Regions from separate parts of the Homo sapiens genome. Here region 2 is linked to region 1. The links are contacts of gene promoters, found by promoter capture Hi-C in blood cells and fetal thymus (Javierre and others, 2016). All regions are on one chromosome and are shown on one strand. The core of a region is centred on a gene start or on the middle of the fragment in contact, and the rest is flanking DNA. Distances in the headings are between cores, read along the strand shown.

Region 1 (5,921 bases), core at 1,797-4,296:
GGATAATGGAGTGTAAGAACCCACCTACCCACGTCCCTAATAACATTTTATTGCATGTCTCCCGGTTCATGATGGTCATATAATGTAGGGGTTTACAGATAGCCACATAACGATCATAGGCCATTACAGTAAGGATGAAGATCTCAGTGCAACCAAAGAAATGTACTCCAAACAGTTGCAACATGCACCCCACATAGGAGATGGTTTTGTCCTTTGCTAACAGGTCAACAATCATCTTGGGAGCTGTGACTGAAGAGTAACAAATGTCCACAAAAGACAAGAAGCTGAGAAAGAAATACATGGGTGACTTAAACAGGTTGCTCAGGCAAACTGTCAGCATGATGAGGAGATTTCCCAGAAGAATGATTATGTAGAAGAAAGAAAACACCACAAAACAAACTTTCTCAATCTCTGGGCTCTGAGAAAGACCCCAGAAAATGAATTCAGTTACGTTGTTTATTTTTTCCATGGAATGGGTCAAGTTCTTAGGAGACAATTAAATTACCTGAAAAAAAGAAAACATAAAAAGGACTGTATTTATTTTATTTCTAACGCAGAACCAACGGAAAATCACAGTAGATCAAAAGAGGAAAAAATGCTGATTGGCATGCATACTTGAAGAAATTGAAATGCATCTATTTTGATCATCTTACCTCAAGATAAGATCACATTCGTTCACTTCAGGTGAGAAAGCAAAATCCAGAGAGATAAAGTAAATCCCCTCAATCTCATATATATGTTACCACATGCCTCTCTTCTCTCACCTTTTATTAATGTTTATTTAGCTGTTTCTAAACTTTATTTAGTTTTTATTTTTTATACGACACTGAGTTTTGAAACAACTTCTGTATTTTGGGATATGGTAACATCTATGTTATCTACTGGCAAATATCTGGAAATGATTGCTTTATTTTTGACCCATAAGTGAAAACATACGCCCACATTTCACCTTTTGAATACTGCCATGCCTGATTATCACATCAACTCACAAATATTCTGCAATTTCTCTGCAAGTTTAACCACTCTTGCCTTTGCAAGTTCTTCTCATGAAACTCTATCTTTGTGCACATGATGTATGCACCTCCACCAGTGTGGTCTCGAGCCCTGATAGTCAAGATGTAGTGTGAGGTAATAGAAAGAGGAGCAAAATTACACAAAATTGATTCTAAAATGATACTACTGTAACCCCCAAGGTAAATTATTTAACTTAACAGAAATTCTCTTATCCCATTTGTGAAATGACAGTTTCAATTTCACTGTTACATATCACATTAATAGTTATTTCAGCCGTGAACTTAAATCACTTCTGTCAGTATGAAATATTCATAAAACCCTGATAGGAAGGCAGAAATAAGGTAAAGCAATAAAAGAAACTTCTAGAGACAAAGCAAGACCTGTTTGATTTGAAAGGAGAGGGAGTGAAGTCTTATGTAATTTCTCCATGTGCAAACTCAGAATACTTTAGGATTTTCCAGGACTGACTTTGCTTTGTATTTTTAAACATTTTTCTATTAACTGAAACGAAGAAAATGGGTGTAAAAAAGAGAAGACTGTCCCTTAATGTCAACATTGCTTCATACATCTTTCTAATCTTTCAAGTTTTATTCTGGCCATATTCATTCTCCCAATTTGGTCGATTTATATTTCTGGAAGAGATCATCACTGAATGACAATTTTAATGGGTTTAGGAAAATGACATTTATCTAAATGGATGAATATTCATTGGTGAAATTTCAGGCACTACAATGGGGTCATTGGTACATGGATGGAAAAGGGTATCTGTAATAGTTTTGATTAAAGGAGCTTTTAGGATTCTTTCGCTAATCAACCGCAGGTGTAAATGATCCCTCCAATTACAGGTGGTCTAGCAGAGACCTGTAGATCCTCTCAAGATCCATCCAGCTGAATGCTGACAACTCCTACTAAACTCTGTGCTCTCAGCTATCCTTATGCAGTGAAGTCGTGCCTAATACTTCCAGCTTTTGGGAATCTATAGGATTGTGTTTCTTCAGGTATTCATGTTAGAGTTGGCACAGTAGTCATTACAGGTGTGCTATCTCTTGTGCATTACAAAATAATGATTGTAAGAGTAATAGTAATATGATTTAGATACAGTCTCAAGCACATCCCCTGCTTTTACATGCTCATTCCTCTTCAGTTATCCTGCTGAATTAAAAGAAAAATACCATCCTCCACTAAGAGAGCCCCTCAACTTAAGGAAGCTCACAACATAGCAGTTTTGAGCAACAATTATTTATGTTGCTTTGCTCTCATCTAGAAGAAACTGGGCTTTTGCACACAAGCCTGAGGATTTTTTCCCCTACCGTCCATATCACAAGGTTCTAGAGGAATTTTTTTTTTCATTCACCAATCTATTTTATTCAGGTATTCATTTATCTTAATTGCAGGATTGAGATCTAAAGTTCCATTTATCAGAATGTGCATCCTAGTAAAGGCTGTTAACCTTCTGAATCATGGCCTCTCTTGACTCCAACTGATGCAGTAACATCTTGCTGTTTCTCTCCTTAAGCCAATATCCATCACAAGGATGCCTTCCTCCTTTATCTGGGCATGTTGGGCATAATGACTCACTTTCCTTTGAAATTATTGACATTTTCTTATTTGTGTCCATCCTACCCTTCCTCACAGTCATGTTTAGGTACATGTTACTATCTTACTATCATGATTTTAATAATTTCATTCTCTCTGTATTTCAGAGAACAATATTTTTCCATTATTTTATAAATGTTCAAAATCTAACAATTTAATTATCTTTTTCCACAAATATTCTGTATTCGTTTGAAAAGAAAAAAAAATCTCACCAGTATTTTCCAGAGCTTGAGTTCACTTTATGTTTCTATCTCTTCTTGAGTTAATTTGGGTGCAGCTTCCCAAGGTAAAGTAACAGTGATGCCTAGGGAATTCCTTTGTGAATAATTAGTACCGGAAAATACCTGACCCCCCAAACTGAAAGGCTGGTAGAAATGAGTCTTTGTTGTTCCTGGTTTTCTCACCTAATGATACCTGCCATTTCACAGGGTCTTTGACAATAAATGCTGTTTTCTCTATTCTTACAGGTCTATTTAAAGAGGAAGATGCAAAATGATAAATGACCTTGGAGACAGCTTTTCCCCAAAGTCTTCCTCCATAGTCAAAATCAAATTGCAGCCCTACCAATGAACTTTAATTCTAGTGTCTGTTCAATTTTTTAAAATTAAATTTTAAAAATTGTTGCTAAATACAAAAACCGATCAATTCTCATATTAACGACTATAGCCCTAATCCAAAGCAATTCAGCCAAGAGAAGTAATAATTTTATCATTCTAAACCTTGTTTTTGAATTAATATGCTTTACTATATGCATTAAATAGTCCATATTTGATATAACATATTAAGATATCTGTTTTATGTTATTTATTGAATTGTAATTGTTCTTTCTTGAAAGCTATATTGTAATAGAAAATAGTATATTCGATTGTGCTATTTGGGAACATTGCTTTTCTTCTTAATTGATTCTATGCTGATTTATGGAGAAATAGCTGGGATAAGGTTCATGTTTGGCCTATGCTTGGAATAAGTATGGTGTTGAATTTAATTCATTTACTTTTATATTGTAAATTCTTAAGGTTGACTCACGAAAACTAATAATAATCTTGCTTTTTCTCTTCCTATTTCTATTAGTTTCTTTCCCCATGCTTGACTTTTTTACTTTACTCTTCTTACCTTATCTTACCTTTTTCTTTATTTCAAACAACATCCAAAATGTCCAAGAGATCCTACTTATATTTTCACTATCTGGAGTTAGCAGAAGAAATGAGTGAAAAATAAAGAGTAGGAAGTAAAAGAGCAATTATGCCCAGGTTTGTGGAAACATTCATCATGATTAAGCTAGTGTGTTAGTTTCCTGTTGCTGCTGCAATGAATTACCACAAACTTAGTGGCTTAAATCAATACAAAGTCAGTATTTCACAGTTCTGCAGGTGAGAAGTCCAAAATGAGGCTCACTGGGCTAAAATCAAGGCATTGGAAAGGATGAATCCTTCCGAAGTCTGTAGGGGAAAACTCATTCTGTTCCAGCTTCTAGAATCTACCAGCTTCCTTATGGCCCCTTTCCTTCATCTCCAAAGCAGGCAGTGTAGCATCTTCAAATTTAACTTATTCTGCTTCACTTTCCCATTTTAAATAAACCTTGTGAATACGTTGAGCCCACATGGATAGTGCACGATAACATCTTTGTTTTAAGGTCAACTGACTAGCAAACTTAATTTTTATCTACAATCTTAATCACCTTATCATGTAACAAAATATATTGATAAGTTCTGAGGACTAAGATGTGAACATCTTTGGAGATCCCTATTCTGCTGCTCAGTTATTTAGATGAGTAGTGGGGCGAGTCAGTATATCTTCTATTCCTACTTTGCAAAATGTACTTTGAGATCTAGGAGATGTTTAAAAATATGTTTTGGAACAAATGCTAAATATAATATATAAATAATGGAATATTAATGTTCATATTTTATAACAGAAATGTGTGCAAAGGAAGGATATCTGATGAGAATTATCACTTGGATTAAAAAAGACAGCTACATGTCATGTGATAGGAAAATGATAGTAAATTAATAAAAGATATAAGAATAGTACATACACAGCAACGGTCAATAGATTTAACATTCATTTATTATAATAGCTTTATTGCGATATGATTCATATACTATGTAGTTCATCAATTTAAAGTGTACAGTTTAATTAATTGATGTTTCATAAGCAGGGTTGGGCAACCATCAACACAATCTAAGTTTACAACATCTTTGTCCCCTCAAAAAGAAACCCCATTCTCATTAGCAATCACTCCTCATTCCTCTCTCACACCATCACCCCCAGCTCTAGGCAAACACTAATCTACTTTCTATTACTACAGATTGGCATCTCTGGACTTTTTTTTACATAAAAATAATAATACAATATGTAGTTTTTTGTAACTTGCTTCTTTCACTTGCCGTAGCATTCTTAAAGATAATCCCATTGATGGGAGTGTAAATTAGTTCATCCGTTGTGGAGGACAATGTGGTGAGTCCTCAGAGATCTAAAGGCAGAAATCCCATTCCATCCAACAATCCCATTACTGGGTATCTACCCAGAGGAATATAAATCATTCTATTATAAAGACACATGCACACATATGTTCATTGAAACACTGTTCACAATAACAAAGACATGGAATCAACCTAAATATCCATCAATGATAGACTGGATAAACAAAATGTGATACATATACACAATGGAATACTCTGCAGCCATAAAAAAGAATGAGATCATGTTCTTTGACGGGGCATGGATGGAGCTGAAGGCCATCATCCTTAGCAAACTAACACAGGAACAGAAAACCAAATAAGGCATGTTCTCACTTATAAGTGGGATTTGAAAGCCATATTTTTCTTGAGACCAATAGATATGAACACTTTTTTGTAATACATTGTTTTCTCTAGATTAAATTTACATACAAGGAAGTGCAATGTTTTGAAGTATATGCTTTGATGATTTTTGACACATGTATATATTCATGTAACCACTAACAAATTCAAGATGTAGAAAACTCAACAACTCAGAAGTTTTGTCATGCACCTTTTCAGTTCATTCCCCCAGATACAACTACTTTTCTGGTTTTTATGATTCAATTTTAGTTTTCCAATTGTAAACTTATTATGACTGATTGAAGCATTTATTCATTTGTGTCTAGACTGTTTTGAGATTTATCATGTTGTTTTGTGTATCATTAGTTCATTATTTTCCTTTGCAGAAGAGTGTTTGCTGAAAAACATCCTATAACGTTTACTCTAACAACTTTTGTCTTTTAAATGCAGTATAATTATATGTAACGTTATTGAGATTTTTGAATTTAAGTTTCTATTGCTGCAGTTTAC
Region 2 (5,948 bases), core at 3,240-5,739, 47 kb after region 1:
GTTGTCATATAATAGATACTGAAGTCACTTTCTAGAAGGTTGCACCCACTTACATTCCCACCAAAAGTTTGTAGGGTTGACGGTTTCCCACACCTTTGTCAAGACTATTTGTTAAGACATTTATCAAAAGGATTACTTTATTAACCTGATAGGTGAAAATTATCTAACTGGAATTTTAACTTGAATGTATTTAACTATGAAAGAAATTGAGCATCTTTCCAGAGGCATAATCTTTATAATAAGGAGAACAGTCTCTTTTAAGATGGGTTATTTTTCCAATGTTCATTTGTGTCATATTTTTCAGAAACTTATCTGTGAAATCAATTTACATTTTAAAAAGCTATGCTTTTGTCTGGCAAATGTGTTGTAAATGTATTTTATCATATTGACACTTCCCTTTTAATTTTTTACTGTGTTGCTATTTGGAATATATATGTGAAAAAGTATATGGAAAAATTTGTTCAATATTTGAAATATGCAAATAAATATTAATTCCCATTATATATTTAACTTCTCTTTCTTGAAGTCAGGATATGGGATTCATAAGAACATACAAACTAAAAATTCTATTGAAAGTTTCAGTCCTGACTTGGAGCGCATAGATCTCATTTTCTAAATCACTGATGCTTACCTGCAAACCTGAAATTTGAAAGAATGTCCTGATTTATGTGTCAATTATTCTTCCACTTTTTTCCTCATTTTAGCCTCAGTGTCTACTTGTCTCTTAAGAAAACTTTATGAAGAACCCAGAAAAATAAGGAAAGATGGACGAATTTAACTTTGGACAACACAGTATAACAAAGCAGTACAAAGTTGAATAATAAAGGATGAATTTGGAACTGAAAATAATTAGAAAATTTTCAGAGGTAAATTAAAAGGAAATAAAGATAGTCAAGGCAAGAGGTTAAAATAATTCTCATGTTGGACTGTAATGATTGACTTTTTGCTCATTGCAAAAATTTTATGTTTATTGTCTCTTTCTCTGTGTATGTGTGTGTGTGTGCACACACACCCACATACATGTAAATTTTATTAAGGAAGGTATTCTCAAGTATTTAAACAACATCATTAGAATGATCTGTATATTTAGGAAGTAAATATATTATAATGGTACTGTCAGGTTCAAATAATGTGAAAGCCTATTGTAGTAAGTCATGTACATTTTCATCTGTTACCGCAACACAGTACAAAATATTTATTATTCTTGGCTATAAGCTAAAGGAACACATTCAGCTCAGAAGACACCTACTCATACCAAACCCCTAAATTAATGTTTACTTTGTTTGAAAAATCATTTGCTTTTAAGTTATTTTTCTATTTCTAATTGTATTATTTTCATGTGTAATTTTGTCATGCCACTGCAGTCCAGCCTAGAGGACAGAGCGACATTCTGTTTCAAAAATAATAATAATAATATTTTGGTAAATATATTGAATAGTTACTATGAATTCCATTTCACTCAGAAAAAAATACAAAGAATTGTCAATAATAAGCCATTGGAAAGTTGCAATTTCATTGCAAGAATATGTATTTGACCTCTAAATTTAGAATCTATTTCTTTTTTTCTTTTGCAGATTAACTAGTTCTAATCTGTGGTTTCTTCACATCAACTGAAACAATGCAGCAAAATAACAGTGTGCCTGAATTCATACTGTTAGGATTAACACAGGATCCCTTGAGGCAGAAAATAGTGTTTGTAATCTTCTTAATTTTCTATATGGGAACTGTGGTGGGGAATATGCTCATTATTGTGACCATCAAGTCCAGCCGGACACTAGGAAGCCCCATGTACTTCTTTCTATTTTATTTGTCCTTTGCAGATTCTTGCTTTTCAACTTCCACAGCCCCTAGATTAATTGTGGATGCTCTCTCTGAAAAGAAAATTATAACCTACAATGAGTGCATGACACAAGTCTTTGCACTACATTTATTTGGCTGCATGGAGATCTTTGTCCTCATTCTCATGGCTGTTGATCGCTATGTGGCCATCTGTAAGCCCTTGCGTTACCCAACCATCATGAGCCAGCAGGTCTGCATCATCCTGATTGTTCTTGCCTGGATAGGGTCTTTAATACACTCTACAGCTCAGATTATCCTGGCCTTAAGATTGCCTTTCTGTGGACCCTATTTGATTGATCATTATTGCTGTGATTTGCAGCCCTTGTTGAAACTTGCCTGCATGGACACTTACATGATCAACCTGCTGTTGGTGTCTAACAGTGGGGCAATTTGCTCAAGTAGTTTCATGATTTTGATAATTTCATATATTGTCATCTTGCATTCACTGAGAAACCACAGTGCCAAAGGGAAGAAAAAGGCTCTCTCCGCTTGCACGTCTCACATAATTGTAGTCATCTTATTCTTTGGCCCATGTATATTCATATATACACGCCCCCCGACCACTTTCCCCATGGACAAGATGGTGGCAGTATTTTATACTATTGGAACACCCTTTCTCAATCCACTCATCTACACACTGAGGAATGCAGAAGTGAAAAATGCCATGAGAAAGTTATGGCATGGCAAAATTATTTCAGAAAACAAAGGATAAATTGAGGGCCTGACCTGATTACTTTTTCAGTCAAATCATGATTTAACAGAGTAAGTATAGACAGCAAATAGGAAAGTACCTGAATGCTGTGGGAATAATATATCATCGTATCTAAGTTTGTGGGTTCCTATGTTTTCTAGTTAACAGGAGTTGTGACTACCAAGACATTGTCTTTTGTGCCAGAACTAGGTAGAATATAGATTAATTCAGGTGATTACCTACCAGTAGTCTTTTCTTTTCAGATTATCTTCCTTTCCAGCCATGCATTTTCTAAAGTGTAAGCCTGACTATCTCTATGCACTCTAATCTAATGCATCTGATTTTCTTACTTCTTTCCTGTGCTTTTGACCACAGACTGATAAACTCCCTGAAATCTTCAATTTGGCTCTTCCTTTTCCTAAGAGCCCAATTCTGCCATTGCTGGTTGTGAACTACACATCACAACTCTGTCTACACTCTGGTTTAATAAAAAGAAAGACATTTATACAATCACAAGTGTTCAAATTTGTGAGCACCAACAAAGAAATGTCAAATTCCTTCCCTAATGCATTTGCAATAAGGTATCAAGCTTCCTCCTGAACACTTCTAGGGAAAAGGAACTAACTCAGTATATCAAGATGCCCATTTACATTTTATCACTACTTTGTATTTAAAAAGTTCTGTATTTTTGAGTCAGAGGCTAATATACTGGAGATACAACATATTTCCTGAGCCTGAAGTGCAGAAGGGTAGAACATGGTTGAAACCAAAAATGGTATGATCTATTGTGTTTAAAGTTGGGTGATGTCAATGAAATAAATAAAATTATCACAGGAATTCAGAAAACACTCAGGACACTTGTCTCTAGTGGGTTCTCCCTAAACAGGGAACCCACTACTGCTATAGGAAGTTACATCTCTATTTATTCTGTCCTAATAATTGGGGCTGCATAGAATCACAAGTTAGAATTGGCAATGGAATTTTCATGCCCAGAGTGAGGACAGCAGATAAAAAGCGGCACTTTAGATATTCATATTATGGACTTTTAATATTCATCTGTTTCAGTGTAATAAGTGTACCACATCTTTAATAACTGTTGACAGATTCAATTTCATTTTTAACCTTATTTATCATTATTTAATGAAAAATATTACCAATTGAAATTATTTTCTCCTGTCAAATATAAATTTAAAATAAATTCAATTAAATAACATGTTTTTTAATGTGCTCACTTCATTTTGTTTTCTGTGATGTAATGTTTCCAGTGTTCACACTAGTGTCCCAAAGTTGACATGTCATACACGAGAAAGGCCATATATTTAATAGACAATGGAAATGTAATGATTCCATTATTAACTTATCTAATATCCTTCACTACAACAACAAATGTACATACACACACACACACACACACATATGCACACACATACCATATAAAATCTTTTATGTTGATTTGCATTGCAGATAAATAATTGAACATTAAAAGTTAGGAAAAAGGTATATGGGTAAGCACAGGCACAGGAAAAAAAAGAAAACGAATAAACTAAAATATAAATAAATAAATCAAGATTGGAAAATATAATAAGAGGAAGCTATATGGGGAAGAATATTGAAATGTTTTGTGTATTGTAGAAGTACTATTAGTTAAATCGAAATGGAAAATAAAGATAAAATATTTTAAATGTTCTGCAACACCATATCCATTCAATGGGTAACTTTGGAGTGACCATCCTCCCTCAAAAGTGATTGACCTAAAAGAAAAAGTATGAATTCTGATTATCTCTTCATTTCAGGAACAAGTAGCGTTTAAATGTGTCCAAATTCTTTGTTTTTATTATACTTGTGTCTACTAAAATAATACAAAGTTTGGTATTTCTATTGAAAAATTAAATTTCAAGGTGAAAAATCTAAAGGTGAGAGAACTGAACAAATTAGTCCCTTGAGATTGTCTTGCTGAGAAGTAACAGCATTAAGGTTTTAACTCAGTTCTATATGTCTCCTATGTTGGTAAAAAAAAATCTTAATTCAAACATCTTTTCAAATGGCCAAAAATATAAAAAGTATAAGGAAGTTGATGCAGTGATTATGAATTGCACTTATTTTAACTTTAAGATGGGTGGTGGAATATAATGATTAAAGTAGTAAGCACTCTAGAGTCACACTACATAAATCCAAATCCTGGCTTTACCAATTTAAAGCCTTGTAACTTTAAGAAAAATATATGAAATCTTAGGCCTAATTTTTATCTGTAAATCAAAAGTTAAAATAGTTTATATTTAATTGGCTTGTCATCAGAATTAAAGAAAATGATATTCATAAAGAGCTTAAAAATAACAAATTTAATATGAACCGTTTTCACAATAAAATAGATTTTTCAAAAAATTAATTTAAATCTATGTTTTTATTACTATAAACCATCCATATTTATTAACGTTTTTCTTTTATTTTCAAAGAATGTCATTTATAATTTGAAATAAAATTTAACTGAAAATAATACCGTCAAGTTTTGTTTTAATAGGATTAAATAAAAACATAACAGAATTTTAAGCATATTGGTATCACTTTAAAATAAAAGGAGGGAGTCTTTATGGAACATGCTCCGGTATCTGCACATTTGCATCTTCAACTTTAAATAGTCCGTATGTAAAGGAAAGAGAGGAGTATCCTTCTGATATGAACATATAAGAGGGTAATCATAAAGTAGGGCAAAGGGATATCAATTTAAATTGGTTTCTGGCATGTAACTGAGGTTTAAAATAGGAGAGATAAGAGGTGAACAAACTCTAGATTATCATTTACATATAGTTATTAGCACATAAGCTGGAATAGTGTATTCTACTTTTCACTCTTCTGATTCCTTCTCTATTCTTCATTTCACCTGAATGCTGACACAAGGTGCAAGAGACAGATGATTGAAAATCTATTTATATTGAGGTCCCACAAGAACAATTTTTGGTTAATTGATTGGACTACTGAATACTTAATGAAATTTTCTTTCCTCTTTAACCTCCTTTTCCCTTGTCTTCCCATCTATTTTCTACCATGGTTATACACACACTTTTAGAAGACACCATTGAGAAGCAGTGTTGTAAAAACAAAGTAAAATTAGAGAGGAACATATATGGGTAGATAAGCATATAAAAATATGCTTAACACTATGTGTTATTAAGGAATTGTGAATTAAAACAATGAGATACAACTACACCCCTATTATAATGACCAGAATTCAAAATAATAACAACACCAAATGTTGACAAGGATGTGGGACAACAGGAACTCTTATACATTGCATAGAAAGGGAAATGAAAATTGACATTGAAGAAGCTTAAAGTTTTCCAAATAGGTTGAACCTAAAAATATCATTATAAAGACACATTGTAAATAAAATATTAGAATGAAAAGACAAAGAGGTTGATCA

Evidence for each region. The method cuts DNA at HindIII sites, captures the fragments that hold promoters and counts their contacts. A CHiCAGO score of 5 or more calls a contact.
Region 2: a fragment that was not itself captured here is called in contact with the fragment with the promoter of OR4S2 in region 1 in 1 of 17 cell types (neutrophils); the score reaches 5.8 in neutrophils.

Annotation. Positions count from the first base shown.
Region 1 is chr11:55,645,452-55,651,372 of GRCh38, reverse strand. OR4S2 (olfactory receptor family 4 subfamily S member 2) reads right to left here and starts at 3,046. Exons shown (of 2, transcript NM_001004059.3): 1 at 2,823-3,046; 2 at 1-505. The coding sequence starts at 469. The HindIII fragment of the contact is 13,020 bases long and covers 1-5,921 here.
Region 2 is chr11:55,600,044-55,605,991 of GRCh38, reverse strand. OR4C11 (olfactory receptor family 4 subfamily C member 11) reads left to right here. Exons shown (of 4, transcript NM_001004700.3): 3 at 705-866; 4 at 1,575-3,632. The coding sequence starts at 1,619. The coding sequence ends at 2,551. Among named protein-coding and RNA genes, the nearest start is that of OR4C11, 4.6 kb to the left of the region's middle. The HindIII fragment of the contact is 2,735 bases long and covers 3,122-5,856 here.